Regions from separate parts of the Homo sapiens genome. Here regions 1, 3, 4, 5, 6 and 7 are each linked to region 2. Evidence: promoter capture Hi-C in 16 types of primary human blood cells and fetal thymus (Javierre and others, 2016). All regions are on one chromosome and are shown on one strand. The core of a region is centred on a gene start or on the middle of the fragment in contact, and the rest is flanking DNA. Distances in the headings are between cores, read along the strand shown.

Evidence for each region. Contacts are between HindIII fragments. The CHiCAGO score rates a contact against its expected background, and 5 or more counts as called.
Region 1: a fragment that was not itself captured here is called in contact with the fragment with the promoter of MIOS in region 2 in 2 of 17 cell types (erythroblasts and neutrophils); the score reaches 6.7 in erythroblasts.
Region 3: a fragment that was not itself captured here is called in contact with the fragment with the promoter of MIOS in region 2 in 2 of 17 cell types (erythroblasts and fetal thymus); the score reaches 6.0 in erythroblasts.
Region 4: a contact is called between a fragment that was not itself captured here and the fragment with the promoter of MIOS in region 2, in 10 of 17 cell types (activated CD4 T cells, naive CD8 T cells, total B cells and 7 more). The highest score is 9.6, in activated CD4 T cells.
Region 5: a fragment that was not itself captured here is called in contact with the fragment with the promoter of MIOS in region 2 in 4 of 17 cell types (erythroblasts, M2 macrophages, fetal thymus and 1 more); the score reaches 9.0 in erythroblasts.
Region 6: a fragment that was not itself captured here is called in contact with the fragment with the promoter of MIOS in region 2 in 3 of 17 cell types (erythroblasts, M0 macrophages and M2 macrophages); the score reaches 6.9 in erythroblasts.
Region 7: a contact is called between a fragment that was not itself captured here and the fragment with the promoter of MIOS in region 2, in 17 of 17 cell types (total CD4 T cells, naive CD8 T cells, non-activated CD4 T cells and 14 more). The highest score is 21.7, in total CD4 T cells.

The regions. Positions count from the first base shown.
Region 1 is chr7:8,236,894-8,240,094 of GRCh38, reverse strand. All of the region lies in intron 1 of ICA1 (islet cell autoantigen 1), which reads left to right. Among named protein-coding and RNA genes, the nearest start is that of ICA1, 24 kb to the left of the region's middle. The HindIII fragment of the contact is 2,898 bases long and covers 199-3,096 here.
Region 2 is chr7:7,565,128-7,568,474 of GRCh38, reverse strand. It overlaps MIOS (meiosis regulator for oocyte development), which reads right to left and starts at 1,591. Exons shown (of 13, transcript NM_019005.4): 1 at 1,403-1,591; 2 at 787-868; 3 at 352-449. It overlaps MIOS-DT (MIOS divergent transcript), which reads left to right and starts at 2,410. Exons shown (of 5, transcript NR_110084.1): 1 at 2,410-2,561. RefSeq lists an enhancer at 801-870 and a silencer at 1,121-1,770. The HindIII fragment of the contact is 13,372 bases long and covers 1-2,088 here.
Region 3 is chr7:8,274,912-8,278,586 of GRCh38, reverse strand. All of the region lies in intron 3 of ICA1-AS1 (ICA1 antisense RNA 1), which reads right to left. Among named protein-coding and RNA genes, the nearest start is that of ICA1-AS1, 15 kb to the right of the region's middle. The HindIII fragment of the contact is 3,463 bases long and covers 1-3,060 here.
Region 4 is chr7:8,197,228-8,200,782 of GRCh38, reverse strand. All of the region lies in intron 6 of ICA1 (islet cell autoantigen 1), which reads left to right. Among named protein-coding and RNA genes, the nearest start is that of ICA1, 63 kb to the left of the region's middle. The HindIII fragment of the contact is 4,758 bases long and covers 1-3,555 here.
Region 5 is chr7:8,297,081-8,300,519 of GRCh38, reverse strand. All of the region lies in intron 3 of ICA1-AS1 (ICA1 antisense RNA 1), which reads right to left. Among named protein-coding and RNA genes, the nearest start is that of ICA1-AS1, 37 kb to the right of the region's middle. The HindIII fragment of the contact is 4,184 bases long and covers 38-3,439 here.
Region 6 is chr7:8,255,357-8,258,726 of GRCh38, reverse strand. The region is part of intron 1 of ICA1 (islet cell autoantigen 1); the gene reads left to right. Among named protein-coding and RNA genes, the nearest start is that of ICA1, 5.1 kb to the left of the region's middle. The HindIII fragment of the contact is 3,608 bases long and covers 1-3,256 here.
Region 7 is chr7:8,218,624-8,222,183 of GRCh38, reverse strand. It overlaps ICA1 (islet cell autoantigen 1), which reads left to right. Exons shown (of 14, transcript NM_001136020.3): 5 at 786-909. Among named protein-coding and RNA genes, the nearest start is that of ICA1, 42 kb to the left of the region's middle. RefSeq lists an enhancer at 136-692. The HindIII fragment of the contact is 2,392 bases long and covers 135-2,526 here.

The DNA.
Region 1 (3,201 bases), core at 398-2,897, 670 kb before region 2:
ACTTGAGGAGGCAGTCTGTCCATTCTCAGAGCTCAGTGCTGGGAGAACCACTGCTCTCTTCAGAGCTGTCAGACAGGGACGTTTAAGTCTGCAGAAGTTTCTGCTGCCTTTTGTTCAGCGATGCCCTTCCCCCAGAGGTGGAATGTACAGAGGCAACAGGCCTTGCTGAGCTGCAGTGGGTTCCGCCCAGTTCAAGCTTCCCTGGCCGCTTTGTTTACCTACTCATGCCTCAGCAATGGCAGACGCCCCTGCCCCAGCTAGGCTGACACCTCGCAGTTCTATCTCAGACTGCTGTGCTAGCAGTGAGCAAGGCTTCATGGGCATGGGACCTGCCGAGCCAGGCGTGGGATATAAACTCCTGGTGTGCCATTTGCTGAGACTGTTGGAAAAGTGCAGTATTTGGGCGGCAGTGTCCCGATTTTCCAGGTACAGTCTGTCATGCCTTCCCTCAGCTTGGAAAGGGAAATCCCCCGACCCCTTGCACTTCCTGGGTGAGAAGATGCCCTGCCCTGTTTCGGCTCACCCTCTGTGGGTTGCACCCACTGTCAACCAGTCCCAATGAGATGAACCAGGTACCTCAGCTGGAAATGCAGAAATCACCCATCTTCTGCGTCAGCCACGCTGGGAGCTGCAGACTGGAGCTATTCCTATTCGGCCGTCTTGGAATGTGCTCATAGTCTATTTCTATTGGACAGAGCTGATCTATATTTGAGGCCAGGAAGAGTGACTGGCATGTACTCATTTGATGCTCAGTTTATGTCTGATAAACCAAACTGTTGAACTGAAATGAATGGATAACAATTATAATGATTTTTTAAAGTAGCAATTTAAATGCTGTGGATTTGGAAAGTGATAGAGCAAAACAAGATAGATTATGTCAGGAAATCTTAAGATGTTTATTAATTGTCTCTGGTATGTAGAGTTAGAACATATATAAAAAGAGATGTTAGCACTGGCTCCAGCTGCCTTCTCATGAGGCGTTCAGATGTACCCTGCAGAGCTGACCTTATTTTGACCACTTATGATTCCTTTGCTCCTGTGCCTATGATCCAGTAGTTTGTTCAAGAAAGACCAATTTCCAAAAATATTTTCCCTGTGTGCCATTTAGCTGTGGTTCTCATACTTTAATGTGCTTAAGAATGACTTGCAAAGCCTATTATAAAACTAGATTCCCAGAATCATTCTCAGAGATGCTATTTCACTAGGAAAGGAGTGGGGTCTAGGATTCTGTATATTAGTATCCCCGGAAGATTTCAATGCAAGTGGCTGTTAAACAATACCTTGAGGAACACTGCCGTATGGTATCATGATCTGGGAATAGCCTGGAAATCTAGGTAGAAGGGGCAATTTGCTCAGCAATTTTTGTTAACTATAACTATAAATAACACATACTATAAGAACTTACACTATGAAGGATTTAAATTAAAAGGCATTTTAATAAGCAAAAATTAATTAAAAAGTCATAGTAAAGGAAATAGTCAACAGAGTGAAAAGCTAACCTACAGAATATGAGAAAATATTTGCAAACCATATATTGGATAAGGGATCAATATCTGGAATATATAGAGAACTCCTGCAATAACTCCTGCAAATTAAGTTGGGTCAATAACAAAATGACCCAATTTAAAAATGGGCAAAAGACCTGCATAGACATTTCTCCAAAGAAAATATACAAATGGCAAAAAAATATGAAAAGATGCACAACATCACTAATCAGAGAACTGTAAACCAAAACCATGAGATATCACCTCACAATGCTTCGGATGGCTATTATTTTTAAAAATGGAAACAAACATTAACAAGGATGTGGAGAAAGTGGGACCCTTGCATACCATCAGTGGGCTTGAAATGGTGCAGCTGCTGTGGAAAACAATAGGCAGTTTCCTCAAAAAATTAAGTAGAGAACTGTATAATCCAGCAGTCCAAATTCTGTGTATTTGTGCAAAAGAATTGAATACAGGATCTCAGAGAGATACATTAAGACCTCATTTAATGTCATTGATAGTTCTTGGAAACTGCAACTTTAGGCAAAACGACATAAGCCATTTTTTTCTTATCAATATTATTATGAAACAGTGTTATTCTGGACCTGTGTATATCACTTTGCCTATAGTTGCAGCTTCCAAGAACCTGTCAATGAATTTGACACTGTATACTGTGTTTATTGCAGCATTATTCCCAATAGCCAAGATGTGAAAGCAACCTAAATATCCATTGACACATGAATGGTTAAAGAAAATGGTGTGTGTGTGTGTGTGTGTGTGTGTGTGTGTGTCTGTCTTCAACATTGCATATACAATGCAATATCATTCAGCCTTAAAAAGGAAGTCCTGTCATATACTACAACACAGATGAACCTTAAATGCATTATGCTAAGTGAAATAAGCCAATCACAAGAACACAAATACTGAGTGTTTGCATTTTTATGAGGTATCTAAAGTAGTCAAATTCATAGAATCAGAAACTAGAATAGTGGTTGCTGGGGGCTGTGGGAGGGGAAAATGGGGAGTTGTTCAATGGGTGTAGAATTTCCATCATGCAAGATGAAAAAGTTCTAGAGATCTGTTGTACAACAAAGTGTATATTGTTAGCACTACTATACTGTACACTTTTAAATTAAAAGAATAAACTTTTTTACCATAATAAAAATATTAATCAAAAAGTACCAACTATCCTAATAGTTCATGGTGACATTGAACTCAAGAGAAGAATATGATAATTCCATTTCCTTTGAACACCCTCTTTTTATGAAAAAATTTGTTGGAAATTTCAAGCTAACTAAAGTAAATGTGTACTTACAGTGAAGCTGTCTGGGTGGTGAGAGGACTGGGTGTTGGTAGCCTCTCCATGATGCACTGAGTGGAGGGCAGAGCTTACTTACTTACCCTGAATGTCATTCCCAAAAGCAGCTCGTCCAGATATTTGGATGCTCTCCACAAGGAAGAGAGATGTTCACTGCAGGATGCTGTCATATCAGAGGCATCTGACACTCTGGAAATTCTCTTCTTCCTCTCTCTTGTCTGCATACCTGAAGCGTGGGATTTGCACATCGTAATTTTGTCCCCTTGAAATGTTTTTAAATAGCCTAGGAAAGCTTTAATCACTTTAGGAGTACTGGTTGCCAGGATCCTTTCTGAGACCAAAGGAGAATGATTGGATTGATTTTGTGAAGCAGTCTGGGCATTCATATGCTGTGAGCAC
Region 2 (3,347 bases), core at 342-2,841:
AATATACAGGATAAACAGTTCCTTGCTCATGAACATACATCACCAAGAATCTGGTGTAAAGAAAACAATCTAGAGTCAGAAATCCTACAGCCACTCCCCAGCTCAGATCCTAACAAATCTTGTAATACTCCAAAACCATAAAACCGAGATAAAATCTATCCCATTTCCATCTCACAAAGCTGTGACAATCAACTGAAATGAGCTCTTCACATCACACAGATGTTAGTATTACTACCATTCCCTTAATCAGCCCTGAAAGTTAATGTTTTTTCCAAATTTTGGAGACATTAAAAAATTAGGTGTAGAAGGGGTGCGGTCTGCAATAATTACAGCTTGTATTTATATCCTCACCTTTCAAGTTTAACAAGTCTCACTTCCCATCAGTGATTTCTCAGCAAAGGAAAGCCATGCTGATTCTGTGTTCATTCACCAGAATATTTGCAACAGCACTGTCCAAAAGAAATACAGTGTGAGCCATATGATTTAAAAATTTCTAGTAGCCACATTTAAAAAGTAAAATTAGGTGGAATGAAATTTAAAAACACATTTTATTTAGCCAACATATCAACAGCATTATCCTTTCAATATGTAATCAATGCAAAAATTATTGAGGATTTTTACGTTTTTTTGGCACCAACTCTGGGAAATCCGATGTGTATTTTACACTTATAGCACATCTCAATCCCATGTGGCTACTGGACAGTGAAGTCCAACACATTAAAATACTACTCAGTGTACAAAGGATCCAACCACATGCTTTTTGATGTTGTCTTTTACTTTTCTTACCGTGGCAAATTACGAGAGCGGTTTCAAGAAATTTCCACCATCAGCATCTTCGAGGAGATGCACTGCACATATCCAAATTTCCCTTAAAATATACAAAAGGCCTGCAGTCATTTGCTAACCTATTCAGCAAAGTCCACAACATGTGTGAGGTTTCATTCATCCTCTTAATTTTCATTACTCATATGAGAAGAGAACAGAGCTCACCGGGAGACAGGCCGTTTAAGAAGTATAGTATTTAAGAGGGTACAACGGGAACAGGGCACGTTGCTATTCTAGGTAAAGCAGGAATCTGAGTCCGACTCTCCCGCTCCAGGCACCTGGCTGAGCCTCCCGGGAAAGGCTGGGACGCCGCTCCCCACAAGCCCGCCGCGGCGAAGGCTGTAGCGTGTTCCCTGCGCCCCGAGGAGGTCTCCGCAGGTCCCACGGCCGCCCGCAGCCCCCGGTGGCTCCCGCTGAGGCCCGGCCAGGCGGCCGGCCGCCCGGCGCGATTACCCTACAGCGCGGAACGCGCTCCCCGCCGAGACGCCCGGGCCTTTCAACTAGGCTATCTCCGGCCCCTCGCTGCGGCCGCGGCGCTCCCGAGAGTCGAGACGCGAACCGGGTCGCGCTCACTGACCTGAGGTGGCAGCGCGGCCGCCGCACAGCCGCTTCCGGCCGGGACACCGCCCCGCCCGCCGCAGGAGCCCGGACGCGGGCAAGATGGCGGCCGCGGCCGTGCGGCCCGTGACCTGGACCACTGGGCTGGGACCCACGACCCCACCACCACGCCTGGAGGACGCGCAGCGGCGCCTCGGCCTTGGAAGGGGAGTTTCCCAGCGCGAGCCCCGCCCTTCCCCGCCCGGGAGGCGCCTCGGGGCGGGGTCACTGGCCGGGAGGCCCCGCCTTCCGCCCGAAAGCGCCGGTGCACCCCGCAGGCCCTGCCCGTGGGTCCACAGGCCGGATCCCCGGGTTCCTAGGCTGGGACTGCTTCTCAGAACCACTCTGTCGTTTTTAAGCAGGGTCACACACTCTAGCTCACTGGGTCCATTTTAATTTCTATTAAACATTTTTTTTTTTTTGCAAATGATGTAGTAGGAGATCCAAGGTGTTTGGTTAATGATTTATTCACTCATTAGTCATTCCACAAACTTGTCTTGAGCACCTGTTATGTACCCAGCACTGTGCTGGAATGCTGAGGAGACAGGAGTGAAGTAAAAAGACATGGTTCCGGCAGGAAACAGGCAAGGAGAGCCTTGACTTGGTAGGGCTAACACAGTGCTACACAGGAGGGACGCCCGCTCGGTGTCGGGGGTCAGCAAAGCTTCCTTAAGGACCACTAGGTTGAGACAAGAAGGATGAGTATGGGATTAGCCAGGAAAGGGAAAAGGGCAGTGGGAACTGGAAGAGAAGAGCCTTCTAGGACTGGGAAAGAGCAAGTGCCGGGTCAGGAGAGAGGACATAGCAGTGAGGAGGCAGTAGGTATGGATGAATGAGCAGAGGAAGTGGGGAGAGATTAAGGTGCTTTCAGAAACGGGTTGGAAACCAGTTTAGTGAGTTTGGATGGCATTTACCTAAAGGCAATGTTAGAGTCATCGAAAGTTTTTAATCAGGCAAGTGGTATGATCAGTTTTTTGTTTTGTTTTGTTTTTTTTGAGACGGAGTCTGGCTATATCGCCAGGCTGGAATGCAATGGCGCGATCTCTCCTCACTGCAACCTCCGCCTCCCGGGTTCAAGCGATTCTCCTGCCTCAGCACCTCGAGTAGCTGGGACTACAGGCGCGCGCCACCACGCCCAGGTAATTTTTTGTATTTTTAGGAGAGATGGGGTTTCACCATGTTGGCGAGGGTGGTCTCATTTCTTGACCTCGTGATGCGCCCACCTCGGTCTCCCAAAGTGCTGGGATTACAGGCATGAGCCACTGTGCCCGGCCAGTATGATCAGTTTTTGCGCAGAGAGCTGGAGGGATAGAGTATCAGAATGAGGGATGATAGAAACGCAGGTTACCAGTGGCACGGAGAGTGGGCATGGAGAGAAGTGGGGGCCCTGGGGAATACTTAGAAGGCGGGATGAACAGAGCTTGGTGACTGACCAAGTGAATGACGGTGAAAGAGGATTCCAAGTTTTTTGTTCCCAAAACTGAGTGAATGGTGCTGCCTCAGGTGTCACGAGTCTGACCTCGAGGCAGTCTTCAGATGTCTGACAGTCTTTGCTTGTCTGTTCATGATTAAAAGTGGGTGGTCTTGGGCTTGTGGTGGTGATGGCTGTAAACAGCATAATGAGCTTAGTCCTGATGATCTTGGTGGCAGATGGTTTTGATAAGATGATGAGTTTGGGGAAAGTATTGCCTTTCCAATCCTGCCATTAGAAGAATGTAGGCTGAAGAAAGTGCTGTATTACTGAGAGGAGACATGACAGTATTCATCACTTCAAACACTATCTTGCCAATCTTCTCAGTGGTTTTGACCCTGGCCTCAAACCCCCACACAAAACCTCAGATCAATACAAATCTCTTCCTTATCCACTCCTACTATACATAGTTGAGGACAACTTTTCTGCTTGCACTCAGGAGATGACACTGCCT
Region 3 (3,675 bases), core at 80-2,579, 710 kb before region 2:
GTTACGTTGAGGAAAGAAAAGGTAACAGAGGAGGAAGAGGAGGATAGCCTCAGTGTAAACCAATAAATAGTTACTGCGTGTCCCAGGTTCCATGCTAAGATTGGCAACATAAGTTGGCAGGTTTCTGCTGCAAACTTACCAACCAATACTTGGTAACTCCTCAGGGTTACTGAGCCAGATATGGCCTGAATAAGAGCACACTTATCACCATTTACACAAAGATGAAGCACAGGAAGAAGGGAACACAGTTTCTTACAGATCTGCACCTGGACTCTGTGAGCCCTCTCTCTGTATTCTCTACCTTACCCAGGCTGCTCCAGCCTCTCAGTGCCAGAGTTAGTGGTTCTCAAAATATGGTGTGTATCAGAATAACCTGGGGAGATGGCTTACAATGTGCAATTATTGGCCTCACTCCAAGAATTGATCCATTAGTTCAAGATAGAATGCACATTGTTAATGAACCTCTCAGGTCTACTTGCCCACACTGAAGTTTAAGAACCTCTGCCCTAAGGAGAGAGCTTCACGCCCATGAGGGAATCATATATTCTCTGACTTTTTAAAAAGGCAAGTCGTGGTCATAGTCATTGGGGAGGTTTGAGTATATATTAAGATACATTTTAAATAAAAATTGTAGGATTAAATATTAAACAGTAGTAGAAATAAGAAATGGGACCTATGTGAATTTAAAGACTTTTAAAAACTATTCTAAAATTGTTTCTGCTTTACATGATGAAGAGATTATTTTTGACATTAAAAAGTAGAACGTCTATGACTAAATCTGGTAGATATAGCAGAAGGCCTAACCAGAAATATCAAACTCACCGTGGTTAACAACAGGGCATCAGAATCACATGCTGATCTTTATAAACTTATAGATGCTACATACAGTCCCACTCCACACCTATTGAATCAAAATATCTGGGGATAAAGCCCAGCCAAGAAAAACTTTGATAGCTGGCAGGGCTGAGATCTCCTGCTTTCAACCAGGACAAAGACACTACTGCCACCTGATGGAAATGTACCTAAATTGTAAGGACAGCTTTTGGAATGGTAGTTTCCTTTGCGAGCTGAATCTAAGCTAATCTGTTGAACTGGCAAACACAATGATAACCATAAAAAATGTAAATATACAGAAAAATACAAAAATTTCTAACTGCACATTTGTTAATTTTTATGGAAAATATTAGGACTGGGAGAGGTGGCTCACGCCTGTAATCCCAGCACTTTGGGAGGCTGAGACGGGTGGATCATGAGGTCAGGAGATGGAGACCATCTGGCTAACACGGTGAAACCCCGTTCTCTACTAAAAATACGAAAAATTAGCCAGGCGTGGTGGCGGGCACCTGTAGTCCCAGCTACTCGGGAGGCTGAGGCAGGAGAATGGTGTGAACCCGGGAGGCGGAGCTTGCAGTGAGCCGAGACTGTGCCACTGCATTCCAGCCTGGGCGACAGAGCGAGACTCCATCTCAAAAAAAAAAAAAAAAATTTGGGCTGGGTGCAGTGGCTTATGCCTAGGCAGAAGAATGACTTGAGCCGGGAGTTTGAGACCAGTCTGGGTAATATAGCAAGGCCCCATCTCTATAAAAAATTTAAAAATTAGCCAGGCATATGGGTGCGGATCTGTAGTCCTACCTACTCAGGAGGCTGAGGTGGAGCACTTGAGCCCGGGGAGTTCGATCCTGCAGTGAGCTATGATCATGCCACTGCACTCTAGCCTGGGTGAGAGCAAGACCCTGTCTTTATAATACATTTAAAAATATAAATAAAATATTTGAAGCCTAAAATAGAATGTGTTAGGTTTATACGGAGTTTTGTCATGTATAAAGTATATTCACATGCATTAATTAGATTAACTCTTCATTATATTTTAGGAGGGGAGTTATTAGCACATTTTATATATGAAAAAACTGGCTTAGAGAGGGTAGATGATTATCCCAGCTGTTCCAAACTTGTCTGCATGTTGGAACCACCTGGGGAGCTTCAAAGAGTACTCATGTCTGTGTGGCAGCCCTAAAGATTGAGATTTAGTTGGTCTGGGTGTGGCCTAAGTTTTGGGATTTTTAAAAGATACCCTTTGATTCTAATGTGCGGAGAGTTGGGGAAAAACTAGACTAGCCTCCAATCACCTAGATGGTAGTGAATGAAACTGGAGTTCAGGTGTTTTGACATCAAATTAATACTCATAGAATTATATTTGACATAAAGCTCAAATATAATAATTATCCTCAACTAATACCCATTGAATTTTACGATAGAGAAGGGTTTTCAGATTCTTCTGGCCATAAGAATCAGCTGAGTTAGTTGTCAAAAATGTAGAATCTCAGGTCCCTCTACCAAAGTTTTCTATTTGGAATTGCATGTTCCCAGCCATAAATGGGTGCTAAAATTGTGTACACATAGACATAGTGGAATGATAGGCAATGAACACTGGGAAGGGTGAGAGGGTGGAAAGGGGGCAGATGATGAGAAATTAATTAATGGGCACGTTATTCTGGTCATGGGTACCCTAAAAACCCTGACTTGACTACTACACAATCCATGAATGTAACAAAATGGCACATGTACCCCATAAATTGTACAAAAAAAAAATCTGATTTCGAAGGAGCCTGGTGAGTGTACATATTTCACAAGTGTTTACCTGATTTGGGGGATAAAGTAAATTTGGAAAATCTATAATAGAGAATATCAGACCATGTAGTATTATAAAATAGTAGTATTGAGTATCAAAGTTTGGTTTGAAAAATGGCTAAGAATTAATGGAGAGACTTTATCAAAACACAGCCAAGAGAATTAACACCCCACCCTCAGAGGGTCTAGTTGTATACAAACTATTCACTCATCCATTAATTCAACACACTTTGATTAAACACCTAACATTGTACATTCAAGGCACTATGGTGGATGTGTAAGGGAACACACAAGCTGGGCAGAGTCTTTGCCTTCAAAGACCTAATTGCCTAAGTATATCTCTTGTGGGAGAATGCATAATGTTTGAGCTGGGTCATGGTTATAGGTCCAATGGCTCTTGTTTTTCTAAGTGAGAAAGATTTCATTTAAGCTTGCTTCAGCAAGCATTTATTCAGAGCTCTAGTAACTGTTTGGGACATACAGATAAAGTTGCAGTAGTAATGGTGGAAGTGGAAAAGGGAGGGCCAGGGGTTTCTTGGGGACTCCAACCTGGAGTTGAAGGACACACTACAAGTTTGGCGTTGGCAATAGGAGACAGTGATTGTTCTTGGTAAATATATGTCCAGGAAAAGGAGGAGGCTGAATGTGGGGGGTGGTGACCAGGAGAGGACATGCATAAATTAGTATTAGAAGGTGAGAGGTGAATAAAGAAAATTAGGACTGATAAAGGCTTCGAATGTTTAGATTAGGTATTGGATTTTGAGGTAACCCGTTGAAAATTTTATAGTTGGGACTGAAGCCAATCAAAATATTATGTAATTAGCTTCATACTTAAAGAGTAACTCAAAGACCTGAGTTGTCTTCTATTACTTGACATATCATCTCCCATCCCACCACAACCCACACACACATTCGATTCTTAGCATAAAGTAGTCACAAAAAGTATGCAAATTATGTATTTTGTGATTACCTAAGCTGATTTTGTATTGGTTAAAATACACAATCCTAGGTGGAAGATGTTTTTAAATTCCAGGTAAGAAGCAGGGT
Region 4 (3,555 bases), core at 245-2,744, 630 kb before region 2:
GGATTACCAGCTCAAAACTCAACTAATATTCATAACTGTGGCTTAAATCTTCATGAAACTCTTTCATTATACTGAAGAATCTAAAATGATTTTCAGTAGTCAACTACAGTCTAGTAAATCCAGTTTCCTATATTCAAGTGTTCTTTTTGCTCCCTTTCCATGAGACCTCATCGGTCTCATCTCTGATTCCCAGCAAGGCCCCTTCCATACTTGTCAACCTTCACATGGCATGTGCTTGCTCTTATGTCCGTGCCCTTCATGATTGCGTCCCCCAAACAGGAAGTCAATCTGTTCCTTTATTTCCTCCATGTCAACTTATGGCCACTTCTTTAATCTGGCATAAAATCCAAACTTCCACGAGTTCACTTTTTCATTAATATAGTACTTTGTAATTGTTCTAATATATTGTTTTGTAATTGTTCTTTTTTTTTTTTTTTTTTTTTTGCTCAACTGTGCTAAAGGTTCTCAAAGACTTTAAGAAGCCCTAATTACTTCTGTCATCCCGGAAACACATGGCACTATGCTTTAACTGAATAAATGTTCAGTTGATGTACTTTTTAATTTTTTAAATTTTATTTTTTGTGGGTACATAGTAGGTATATGTATTTATGAGGTACCCGAGATGTTTTGATACAGGCGTGCAATGCATAATAATCACATCGTGTAAAATGGGGTATCCATTTCCTCAAGCATTTATCTTTTGTGTTATAAACAATTCAATTATACTCTTTTAGTTACTTTAAAATGTACAATTAAATTATTATTCACTGTAGTCCCCCTGTTGTGCTATCACATACTAGGTCTTACTCATTTTTTCTATTTTTTTGTACCCATTAGCCATCCCGACTTCCCTTCCCACTTCCCATTACCCTTCCCAGCCTCTGGTAACCATCCTACTCTCTGTCTCCATGAGTTCAATTGTTTTGATGTTTAGGTTCCACAAATAAGTGAGAACATGCAATGTTTGTCTTTCTGTGCCTGGCTTATTTCACTTAACATAATGACCTCCAGTTCCATCCATGTTGTTGCAAACGACAGGAATTCATTCTTTTGTTTTTTGTTTTTGTTTTGAGACAGAGTCTCGCTCTGTCATCAGTGTGGAGCACAGTGGCATGATCTTGGCTCACTGCAACCTCTGCCTCCTGGGTTCAGGCAATTCTCCTGCCTCAGCCTCCTGAGTAGCTGGGATTACAGGCACCTGTCACCACACCCGGCTAATTTTTTTTATTTTTTTAGTAGAGACAGGGTTTCACCATGTTGGCCAAGCTGGTCTCAAACTCCTGACCTCAAGTGATCCGCCCGCCTTGGCCTCCCAAAGTGCTGGGGTTACAGGCGTGAGCCACCATGCCTGGCCAGGAACTCATTCTTTTTATGGCTGAATAGTACTCTATTGTGTATAAGTACCACATTTTCTTTATCCATTCATCTATTGATGGACACTTAGGTTGCTTCCAAATCATAGCTGTAGTGAACAGCCAAGAGCCTGTATTTGCTGCAACAAATACAGGAGTGCAGATATGTCTTTGATATACTGATTTCCTTTCTTTTGGGTATATACCCTGCAGTGGGATTGTTGGATCATATGGTAGCTCTACTTTTAGTTTTCTGAGGAACCTCCAGACAGTTCTCCACAATGGTTGTACTGATTTATCAGGGTTCCCCTTTTCTCCACATCCTTGCCAGAATTTGTTATTGCCTGTCTTTTGGATAAAGGCCATTTTAACTGGGGTGAGATGATCTTTCATTGTCATTTTGATTTGCATTTCTCTGATGATGAACGATGTTGAGCACTTTTTTGTATGCCTGTTTGCCATTTCTGTGTCTTGAGAAATGTCTATTCAAATCTTTTGCCCACTTTTATATCAGATTATTAGATTTTTTCCTATTGAGTTATTTGAGCTTCTTATATACTCTAGTTATTAATCCATTGTCAGGTAGTTTGCACATTATTTTCTCCCATTCTGTGGGTCATCTCTTCACGTTGTTGTTTCCTTTGCTGTGCAGAACTGCTCCCTTTATTGTCACTGAGGCTGGAAACCTAAAGAACATCTTGATGCCTTACTCTCTCACACCTCCTACATCCAACAAATCATCAGATTAGCATATTTTGACCTTCCAAATATTTTCCAGATCTATGTCTTCTTAAGTCTGTCATCTCGGCTCTTGTTCAGGCCTTATGACGCTCGCCTGGACCACCAGTCTCTGGCTTGGCTTCCTGCTTCAAGTCTGCCTTCCACATACCCCAGTGTGACTGAAATGAAACCCAAATCCAACCACATCAACGTCTCTGCAAAGTAACTGCCAAGGCCACAGGATTGAGTTCAAGCTCCTCAACATCCCACAAAGCCCTCTGTGGTTTCACTCTGGTCCAAATCTAGGGTTTTAATTCACACTATTTTCAGCCTCATATTTTCTGTTGCAATAACATCAAGCTACTTGATTTTCTCCAAACAATGCTTTGCTCATATTGTCTCCTCTGCTAGGAGACAGGTTGAGGTTGATACCATCTCAGCAGGTATGTGGATGATTTCCCTTCAACCTGGAGAAAGAGAATAGAAGTCCACAAGAGAAGGAGCATGAAGTAGCACAGTGTGCAGCGCAGGATGGGTGGATGTTTGTGACAATGGGTAACATTTATGCAAACCACATTTTCTGCCATAGGCCATTAGCTTGTATTCTGCTTCCATATTTTGGCTTGTGGTATACCACAATCTGTATTGTTTGTTACATACACAACTTTTAGAAATTTTAATTTTCAAAAGAAAGTTGATAGAAATACATCATTCCAAAATATAGGGAATACTCTTCTGATAAAATCATTATGTATAACATATATTTTCGGTTGATTCCCTAACATCCATTCCATCCTATCACTTCCACTTCCAAAGGTATCCAAACCATCAGTTCATAAAACTTTGAGAGTTCTGAATTAACCAGGTAGTTTTTAGGTTTTTTCCATTGCCAGATTTGGATTTAGCTTTCTTGGGTCTGTTCATTTAGTTATAAGTCATCTATCTACTTTCCAGCTTCCAACGTTTAGTAGTGGTAGCTCTTTTCCCATCTTCTTTGTTCTCGTTTGTGCCCCCTTAGAGTTTTTGGTGGGCTTTCAGGGTTGAATAGAGCTAAATGGATGGCTTCCACCCTTCATCTTTAATAGAAAGACTCCATTATTATTATTATTATTATTATTATTATTATTATTATTATTTCTTCTTTCTTCTTTTTTTTTTTTTTTCTGAGACGAAGTCCCACTCTATTGCCTAAGCTGGAGTGCAGTGGTGTGATCACTGCAACCTCCACCTCCCGGGTTCAAGTGAGTCTTCTGCCCCAGTCTCCCGAGTAGCTGGGACTACAGGCACGCACCGCCATGCCCGGCTAATTTTTGTATTTTTAGTAGAGATGGGGTTTCACTATGTTGGCCAGGCTTGTCTTGAAGTCCTGACCTTGTGATCCGCCCGCTTCGGCCTCCCAAAGTGCTGGGATTACAGGCGTGAGCCACCACACCCAGCCTCTTCTTTTTTTTAATGTGGTTGGCAAATGGTAGACATTTTTTAA
Region 5 (3,439 bases), core at 880-3,379, 730 kb before region 2:
TACTGGCAAACCGAATCCAGCAGCACATCAAAAAGCTTATCCACCATGATCAAGTGGGCTTCATCCCTGGGATGCAAGGCTGGTTCAATATACGCAAATCAATAAATGTAATCCAGCATATAAACAGAGCCAAAGACAAAAACTACATGATTATCTCAATAGAGGCAGAGAAGGCCTTTGACAAAATTCAACAACCTTTCATGCTAAAAACTCTCAATAAATTAGGTATTGATGGGACATATTTCAAAATAATAAGAGCTATCTATGACAAACCCACAGCCAATATCATACTGAATGGGCAAAAACTGGAAGCATTCCCTTTGAAAACTGGCACAAGACAGGGATGCCCTCTCGCACCACTCCTATTCAACATAGTGTTGGAAGTTCTGGCCAGGGCAATTAGGCAGGAGAAGGAAATAAAGGGTATTCAATTAGGAAAAGAGGAAGTCAAATTGTCCCTGTTTGCAGATGACATGATTGTATATCTAGAAAACCCCACTGTCTCAGCCCAAAATCTCCTTAAGCTGATAAGCAACTTCAGCAAAGTCTCAGGATACAAAATCAATGTGCAAAAATCACAAGCATTCCTACACACCAACAACAGACAAACAGAGAGCCAAATCATGAGTGAACTCCCATTCACAATTGCTTCAAAGAGAAAAAAATACCTACGAATCCAACTTACAAGGGATGTGAAGGACCTCTTCAAGGAGAACTACAAACCGCTGCTCAAGGAAATAAAAGAGGATACAAACAAATGGAAGAACATTCCATGCTCATGGGTAGGAAGAATCAATATCGTGAAAATGGCCATACTGCCCAAGGTAATTTACAGATTCAATGCCATCCCCATCAAGCTACCTATGCCTTTCTTCACAGAATTGGAAAAAACTACTTTAAAGTTTATATGGAACCAAAAAAGAGCCCGCATCACCAAGTCAATCCTAAGCCAAAAGAACAAAGCTGGAGGCATCACACTACCCGACTTCAAACTATACTACAAGGCTACAGTAACCAAAACAGCATGGTACTGGTACCAAAACAGAGATATAGATCAATGGAACAGAACAGAGCCCTCAGAAGTAACGCCGCATATCTACAACTATCTGATCTTTGACAAACCTGAGAAAAACAAGCAATGGGGAAAGGATTCCCTATTTAATAAATGGTGCTGGGAAAACTGGCTAGCCATATGTAGAAAGCTGAAACTGGATCCCTTCCTTACACCTTATACAAAAATCAATTCAAGATGGATTAAAGACTTAAATGTTAGACCTAAAACCATAAAAACCCTAGAAGAAAACCTAGGCATTACCATTCAGGACATAGGCATGGGCAAGGACTTCATGTCTAAAACACCAAAAGCAATGGCAACCAAAGCCAAAATTGACAAATGGGATCTAATTAAACTAAAGAGCTTCTGCACAGCAAAAGAAACTACCATCAGAGTGAACAGGCAACCTACAAAATGGGAGAAAATTTTCGCAACCTACTCATCTGACAAAGGGCTAATATCCAGAATCTACAGTGAACCCAAATTTACAAGAAAAAAACAAACAACCCCATCAAAAAGTGGGCAAAGGACATGAACAGACACTTCTCAAAAGAAGACATTTATGCAGCCAAAAAACACATGAAAAAATGCTCACCATCACTGGCCATCAGAAAAATGCAAATCAAAACCACAATGAGATACCATCTCATACCAGTTAGAATGGCAATCATTAAAAAGTCAGGAAACAACAGGTGCTGGAGAGGATGTGGAGAAATATGAACAACTTTTACACTGTTGGTGGGACTGTAAACTAGTTCAACCATTGTGGAAGTCAGTGTGGCGATTCCTCATGGATCTAGAACTAGAAATACCTTTTGACCCAGCCATCCCATTACTGGGTATATACCCAAAGGACTATAAATCATGCTGCTATAAAGACACATGCACATGTATGTTTACTGCGGCATTATTCACAATAGCAAAGACTTGGAACCAACCCAAATGTCCAACAATGATAGACTGGATTAAGAAAATGTGGCACATATATACCATGGAATACTATGCAGCCATAAAAAATGATGAGTTCATGTCCTTTGTAGGGACATGGATGAAATTGGAAACCATCATTCTCAGTAAACTATCGCAAGAACAAAAAACCAAACACCGCATATTCTCACTCATAGGTGGGAATTGAACAATGAGATCACATGGACACAGGAAGGGGAACATCACACTCTGGGGACTGTTGTGGGGTTGGGGGAGGGGGGAGGGATAGCATTGGGAGATATACCTAATGCTAGATGACGAGTTAGTGGGTGCAGCGCACCAGCATGGCACATGTATACATATGTAACTAACCTGCACAATGTGCACATGTACCCTAAAACTTAAAGTATAATAATAAAAATAAATAAATAAATAAAATAAAAAAAAAGGAAAAAAAAATTAAGAAAATTTATCTTCACTGACTCAATGTACAAATAAATAAATGATAGCAAGGCCAACTGCAGCTCTAAATAGTAGAGAATATAAATGATTCAAGCATAAAATGGTCAGAGTTCCCTGAATAAATATTTTCCTACAGTCATGTATAAATAATTCTGATTTCTGTCTGAACCACCTGTCTGCGTTCCTAGGGAAACTAAAGTGAATACATGCCTGTCTGTGACTCTACTCCCTGTATCAAAAGCCAAAGTGGACACAGCTACAGAGGGGAGAGAGGTTGTCTCCACATTCTGTTGTTGGATCACTCTCTTATTCACAATCGTCCCAGAAGCCATAGACAATAAAGGAAGGAGGAGCTGATGCAAAGGAATTGGATAGGGAGGTTCTCACCCTTCCATGTGTGCGGATAGTTTGGGTGTGTTGTAAAGACTCCAGACCACGCTCCAGACCATCTAAAGTTCCGGCTTCCATTTCTAACTGCCCTTACTAGAGCCTTAGGAAAAGCATTTAAATGCACTGCGACTTGGGTTGCTTCTCTTACATAGTAAGGAAAGAACCAGGAACAGACAAGATAATAATGATGATAATTTTTTTTTTTTTTTGAGACGGAGTCTCACTCTTTCGCCCAGTCTGGAGTGAGTGGCACAATCTCTACTCATTGCAACCTCTGCCTCCCAGGTTCAAGCAATTCTCTTGGCTCAGCCTGCTAAGTAGCTGAGATTACAGGTGTGTGCCACCACGCCCGGCTAATTTTTGTATTTTTATTTATTTATTTATTTACTTTTAACAGAGATGGGGTTTCACCATGTTGGCCAGGCTGGTCTCAAACTCCTGACCTCAGGTGGCTGCCTGCCTCGGCCTCCCAAAGTGCTGGGATTGCAGGCGTGAGCCACCACACCCGGCCAATGATGATACTTTTAAATAGTATTGAAAAAAAGAGAATTAAAGCACCATGGTGGAGACCGAGACTGGGAATGGTGAGAATTCTGAGTTAACCAT
Region 6 (3,370 bases), core at 203-2,702, 690 kb before region 2:
TTCACAAATAACTAATGAATCTCTCCAGGACAGGGAAGACTACATGTGATAGGGCATTTTATACCTGTTTTTATAACAAAGCCTGCCTACTATGTGACTGTAGGCCAGTTGCTTAAGATAACTGAACTTAAACTTCTTCGTGAAATGAATATAAATCATTATGTCAACTTGGCCGTATTGCGAGGATACTCCGTGATGTGGGTGAAGCATACACCCCAGTGTCTGAGAAGTGGCAGTTCCTCAATTAGTGGTAACTCCTTGTCCCAGTGTAAACCTAGTGAGCTAGAATGAGTTCATGAAAAGGTGGGGAAATGATGGCCTGCATCACTCATGATGGGAATCATCTGTCTCTCTTGCTAAGTCAGATGACATCATCCATCAGGCCTTTGACCAAATCAGAGAAGTGGGATGACTTAGTATTGAACAAGCATTGGTTGTATATGTGCCATGAGCTACACACTGTGCTAAACACTCAGAATCCCAAGACTCAGACCCCACCATGCTCTGGAGGAGCGTACAGCTGAGTAAAAGAGGGAAAGAGAGGAGTCAACTAACCAATTGCCTTTCAGGGAAAGCAAGAAGGAGATAGAGACACAGGTGGTAATGCAGCCCAGGGCGGGGGCATCCCACCCCAACAGGAGAAAGGGCAGAGAAACCCTGAGATGCTTCATGGAGGAGATTGCCCTTGAGTTGAGCCTGAAACAACCAGTAGGAATTCAGCAGGTAAATAAGGGTTGGGAGTGGGGAGAAAGAGCGTTCCCCACTCCCAACCATGTGTATGTGTGTACAAAAGTCAACAAGTAAGGGAGAGAATGCTAATACAAATAGTCCTCGTGTCTGGAGCCCAGTGTCTATGTGTGTCCCTTACTAGCTGAGTGGCCTTGGACAAGTCTGATCATCTGTGATTCAGGAGGATTAGATGCACTAATTAGTGTAAGCACAGGACTGATTCTAAATATTCGTTGCATGGTTGTGGAGGTGGTGGAGGTATTAGTAGAAAATAGGGGACTAATATTAAAAAGTCATTAGAATCAGAGAACATTGCAGAGTTCAATTTTAGAATACATTTAGCAGAAAATACATGAATTAAGAGAGGGTGACTGAATGCAATATAGTTCTGTGGAGTGGAAAATATGAGGTATATGTGTTCAGTGATGGACCACTGAATATATAGATAGTAGTCATTGTTAATTTTAAGAGTCTAGATTGGAGACTAGAAAGGTCCTCTGGTTCTAGTTAGTGAAAGTATTTGTACAAGAAGTGACTCTTAAGTATTGCAACAATGTTCCAAGAGTATACATATTGAAATCCATCTCTTACCATCATCATGATCACACTCACTGCCACATCTCTGTTCCCAGAACAGGGCATAGACATCAGTTTCTGAAACCTAATAGTACCTAGGGGAAAATCCGGTCTTCTCTGTGATATTTCCAGGGTAGAGCATTCTAAGCCAGAAACCAAGAAGCTGATATTTATAAATAGTGCCCCTCTCCTTAGTCATAGGAACCCTGACAACTATCAAGGAAGAAATCAATCAGCAATTGCAGGTTTTGTTGTGCACAGTAGCACTATATTGGCAGTGGATTTGGGCCTAACCCAGCACCTAAGCCTGTGATTGGGGGAGATTGTTTTTATTGAAACAGCCCCATTAATCAAGCTCCTTTCATCCAAGAGTAGAGCAGAGTAGTTAAAAACAGGAGCTCAGAAGTCAAAAGTAAACTTGTGTTTACCAGTTGTTGACTTTGGGTAAATTACTTCGTCCTTCTAAACTTTGTTTCTCACTTGCAAAATGGGTTGATATCCCCTTCATAATGTGTGGCGATGACATAATGATGTTAAGTGCTTCACACATGTAAAGTGCTTGGTAAGTGGTAGAACATAATTATTGCCCCTTGCCCAGCACATATGTACTGAATGGCTACTGTGCTCCAGGGGCCATGCTTGGTGCTAAGGAGGCAAAGATGAACTTGAGGGTCCCTGTACTCATGGGACCTACAGTCTAGTGCAGGAGATACAGATGTAATTAGCTCCTTGAAGGAGAGTACAGGAGTGCAGTGGCACCACCAGTATGGAGCAGTTAACTCTTCAGTGGGGAGGTCTGGAGTGCAAGACCCATGGGGAGAGGGATAGAGACGAGATGTTGAGTTGGGAATACTTCACTGAAGAGGCAACATTTGAGGAGAGTCTTGATGTAAATTCTAAGTTAGGCAATCAGACAAAGGAGGGGGAGGGCATTCCAAGTGGAAAGAATCATCTCAAGTCCTTGAAGTGCATAGTATATTCAGGGAAGCTCAAGCGTTCTGACATGCGCAGAGGGAATAGTTCTATCGGAGGGTGGGGAGGAGAGTAAGATTTGGGGGGAAGGGAGCCAGGATGTAAAGGGGCCTGTGTTTTTTCAAAAAATGTTTGGAATTTCTCTAGTGGCAAGAGAAAGCAATTAAAACATTTTAAGTAGGAGAGTGGAAAAATTTGATTTGCATCATATAGTGATAGGTCGGGCAGTGTTGTAAAGATTGGAATGGACAGGTACACAGATAGCATTGCCTCTTAAGGCCTAAGCTGTGAAGATAGAAAAGATAAGATGCATTCAATCGCTTTTTAAGAGGTAGAATGGAGAGAACCTGGAGACTGGTTGCAAAAGATGAAAGAGGCTGGGTGTGGTGGCTCATGTCTGTGATCCTAGCACTTTGGGAGACCAGGGCAAGAGGATTGCTTGAACTCAAGTGTTTGAGACCAGCCTGGGCAACATAGTGAGAACTCATCTCTACCAACAATTTAAAAAATTAGCTGGGTGTGGTGGTATGTGCCTGTAGTCCCAGCTACTTGGTAGGCTAAGTAAGAGGATTGCTTGAGCCCAGCAGGTCAGGGCTGCAGTGAGTCATGATTGTGCCACTGCACTCCAGCCTGGGCAACAGAGCAAGACCCTGCCAAAAAAAAAAAAAAAGAGAAAGAAGTGAGGTTTTCAACTTAGGCCATTCAGTACATTTAGTGCTGGTAATTAACATAGGGACCACAGAAAGAAGAATTTGAGAGTGCAGATGGAAAGAGGAGTTTAGTTTTAGATGTGCTGAATTTGAAGTGCCTGTGGAACAATCCAGGTGAAGATTACCATCTGGAGGTGGAAATGTGGATCTGGTGCCCTGGAGAGGTGTGTGATTTTGGAAGTTGTTGGCATACAGCTGGCAGTTGAAGCCATGGAAGTGGCCTCACCTAATGAGAAATCACCTAATGAGAGCAAGTAAAGTTCCAAGCTTGGAACCTTACAGATACTGATATTTGAGATGCAGACACAGAGGAAAAGAAGCTAGCAAAGAAAATTGAAAAGATAGAAAAGTGTGGAGAATATTTCCTGAAAAGTAGAGGAAGA
Region 7 (3,560 bases), core at 81-2,580, 650 kb before region 2:
TTGCATTTACATCTTTGTGCCCATTTTGCTACTTCCTTAGGAAGTTCTCCTAACAGTAGACATGGAGAGTCCAAAGATACATGTAATTCTATGATTTTTTAAATGTTTACCGTCAAATCAGTCTGCAGAAAGCTTGCACCAAATCACTTACCCACCAATAATACCATCTGAGGTTGTCTTTAAAAATAAGGCCAAGATTAGGCATCACCAATTCAGATTTGGTTCCAGCTCTGTATTTTTAAAACCCACTGTCATCAACCTGATGACCTCCCCACCCTCCGTCCCTACCCCCACTTCCAACCAAAAACCTGTGTCACAGCTGAGGTATTTGAATTGCTTTACAATGGAATAGAATGTAACTCAAAAAGCAGAGATCAAAAGTCAGCAGGAGAGAATAATGAGAGGCAGCTAGCACTGCATCCTAGGCAGCCACAAAAGATTCCCACAGTCATACTTGACAAACCCAACTCCTTTATTTCAGCTCGAAGCCGCACACTATGGGCTTACGTTTCAGTACAGAGGTCATTTTCTAGTTCTGATTACAGGGCACCAAACTCACTGACAGATGTATTCAAGTGAATTTGATCTCTCGTATTGTAAATGGAAGAACAGCCTGAAAGTTAAATGGGGGGTAGGGGGAGCTTACCCTGTAGCCTGCCGCTTAGATTTAATTTCATCTCGTCTTCGCCTCTGGAAGAGAGAGGACCTTGTGATTTGTCTTTCTTGTTCCCTTTGCAATCAAAATGCTCATTGTTCATGGCTCCTTTTGGTCTTTTCTTCATCAGTCTTGTCTCAAGAAGAAAACGAACTGGGAAAATTTCTTCGATCCCAAGGTTTCCAAGATAAAACCAGAGCAGGAAAGATGATGCAAGCGACAGGAAAGGCCCTCTGCTTTTCTTCCCAGCAAAGGTGTGTGGCCTTTAGTGGGGTTCTATCTGGGGGGATCTGAGGAGACTCCGGGACCCACCTACTCACGAAAGGGAATCTCACAGTGTTCTTTAGAAGGATTTTGCCTGAGGCTGAGGAGCTGCTCTGTACTCACTAGTTAGGCAGTTTGTACTTAACTCTCTAATTAAGATTAACACATAGGATTTTTTTTTCCTCCCTATTAATTAAAAAAAATTTTTTTTCATTTTTCTGTTGGTCTGTAGGGGCATTATATATGTCAATCACTATGAGTGCTGTCCTAGGCTTATGTTTGACCTTCAGTGTTGCTTGTAGCAATCAGTCTGGTCCCCTTCCAGCAGCTGATTAAAGCAGGAGCCTAATGAGACCAGGTTGAAGGGTTCCCTCTCTGCTCTCTGTGGACCAATTAACTTCAGAGAGGTGCTGTTCTCATGCCCAGGTCCACACTGCTCAGACCCTGGACCATAACCCGGGAGTGTGTTAGAAATGCAGAATGTAGGCCCTACCCCAGACATGCAGGATCCACATCCACATTTTAACTAGACCGCTGTTGTTTTGATGTAAATTCAAGTTTGCGAAGCTCTGGTACAGGGAAAATTGTGGTAGATGAGTGGCATTTTTTTTTAACACAACCGTGACTCATTTTTATGGTGGATGTTAAATAAGCAGGAGCCCCTGCACACAGTCACTCTCTGCGCCTGAGAAAAGTGACACTCCTCCTCGTTCCCTTCTCTCCCAGTAACTAACAAACCCCCAAAATGTCACTCACTAGTAGTAGGCAGAATGTAGGTAGTTCCCACAAATATTCAAGCTATAGAAATTTCACTTACTCAAATTGTCCAACATTTTCTTCTGTTAATGTCTCCTTGCTGCTTTCCCTCCGTGTGGGCCAAGAGCAGGCCAGCAGCATGGTACATGGTTGTTCCTTTGAAAACCCAAGAAAGAGGAGGAAAAAAGAGACCTGCTGTGTCTGTTTTTCAGTGATGCCTTCTCCTGGGCATTTTGGTTCTTCCTGATGACATTTGGACCCTGACTTTGGGGGCAATGCCAACTTTTATGCTTGAATGAAACCATTTCTAGTAGTTCTCCACACATTTCCCAAGAAAGGTATTTGTTTATCATCTTAAATCTTACCATTTAGTATTATTTATAATTTTTCTATGTAAAAATACATATTCATTCTAGAAAAATTTTAAAATAGAGACAAACCAAAAAGTGAAAATTAAAAAGCAACTAAAATTTTTACTAATAAAATGATCTACTTTTAACCTCTTAATAGATACTTTCTGTGCATATAGGACCTTTTCCAACCTTGCAAGAATAATTGATTCCTAAAAAAATATTTCATAGAGTAAGTTGTCATGTGTTAAACATATAATTATCACTAACTTCAGTGAGAAAAATTCTTAGGCAAAGGAAGAGAAACAAAGAATCTAGAAATGAATAGAATAGTTAGGGAGATAGCTGAGGACTCTTGATGTCTTTAAGTAGAAGTCATCAGTTACACAAACCTTCACACCAGTGTTTGTTTTACAGACTTATTTGGTAGTCATTGCAACAGCCATATATTCTATTTGATGAAAGGTGAGTATTAAATTAAACCAACAGGGATAACAAGCTTACTTTATGGCACAACAATGTCTTTGAAAATAATCTGCAACATCTAGGTAGGACAGTGTGAGCAGGTTATTCTTATACAAGTACTCAATATTTAAAAACAATACTTTACAGAGAAGAAGAAAACTAGGGGAAATAGTAAAAGGAAATTTTTTCTTAAATAGTTCATTGCACCATTTGTAATCTTACCGTGCTACACGCACGTAAGGCATTGCAGACGTTGATGGAATTTCCAAAAGCTGACTTCAGTTCACTGACACCATTGTTCCCTTTAGCTAAATAAGTTTGCATTTAAATTGAAATTTAAATATTCATTTTTTGGCACCTGTGCCCTGAAACTTCATGAAGAAGAGTATATTTTAAGAGTATAATTCATCTGACATTGCTCATTTTTGGGTAGGGAGATGGAAGAAGCAGTGTTTTTCCCCAAGATAAGTATTTTATCCAAAGTTTAATATGCCTTAAATGTTTTTTGGCTGGGTAAAGGGCATATGTTATAGCCAACATTATAATAATTTTACACCTACTTCATCACTTTCATTTCTGGTATAGTATCCTCAAGGTTTTTTTAACAAGGATTAAATCATGTAACCTATCTGAAAGTGCTAACACACGACAGCCTCTCAGTAAATGTGCTGGTCCCCCTTCCTATACCATTTCAAAATGCTTCTGCTCATATTTCATTCCTCTGTGACTATTGGAGTGAGCAGCAGATGCCTTGGCCTTTGGAGAGTGATCTAAAATGGCCTAGTCGGAGAGATGCTAATCACATACGCTCCATTCCTCCTCAAAGGGCCAAATGTAGAAATGGGCAGTGGTCATGCCTTGGCCATCCTCCATGAACACGGGATTGGCCCCAGCTTCAAATGAGCACTCAGCCCAGGCTCAAGACCACCCCCAACAACGCGGATGGAGGTGCTTGCCAGTGGTCCAGTTAGTAGCAGTAAACTAAGGGATGGGTACATGGATAATCTTCTCTGGCTGACTAATCAGTTGGAACTACATGCATTTCGATTATTATTCAGCAAATATTGATG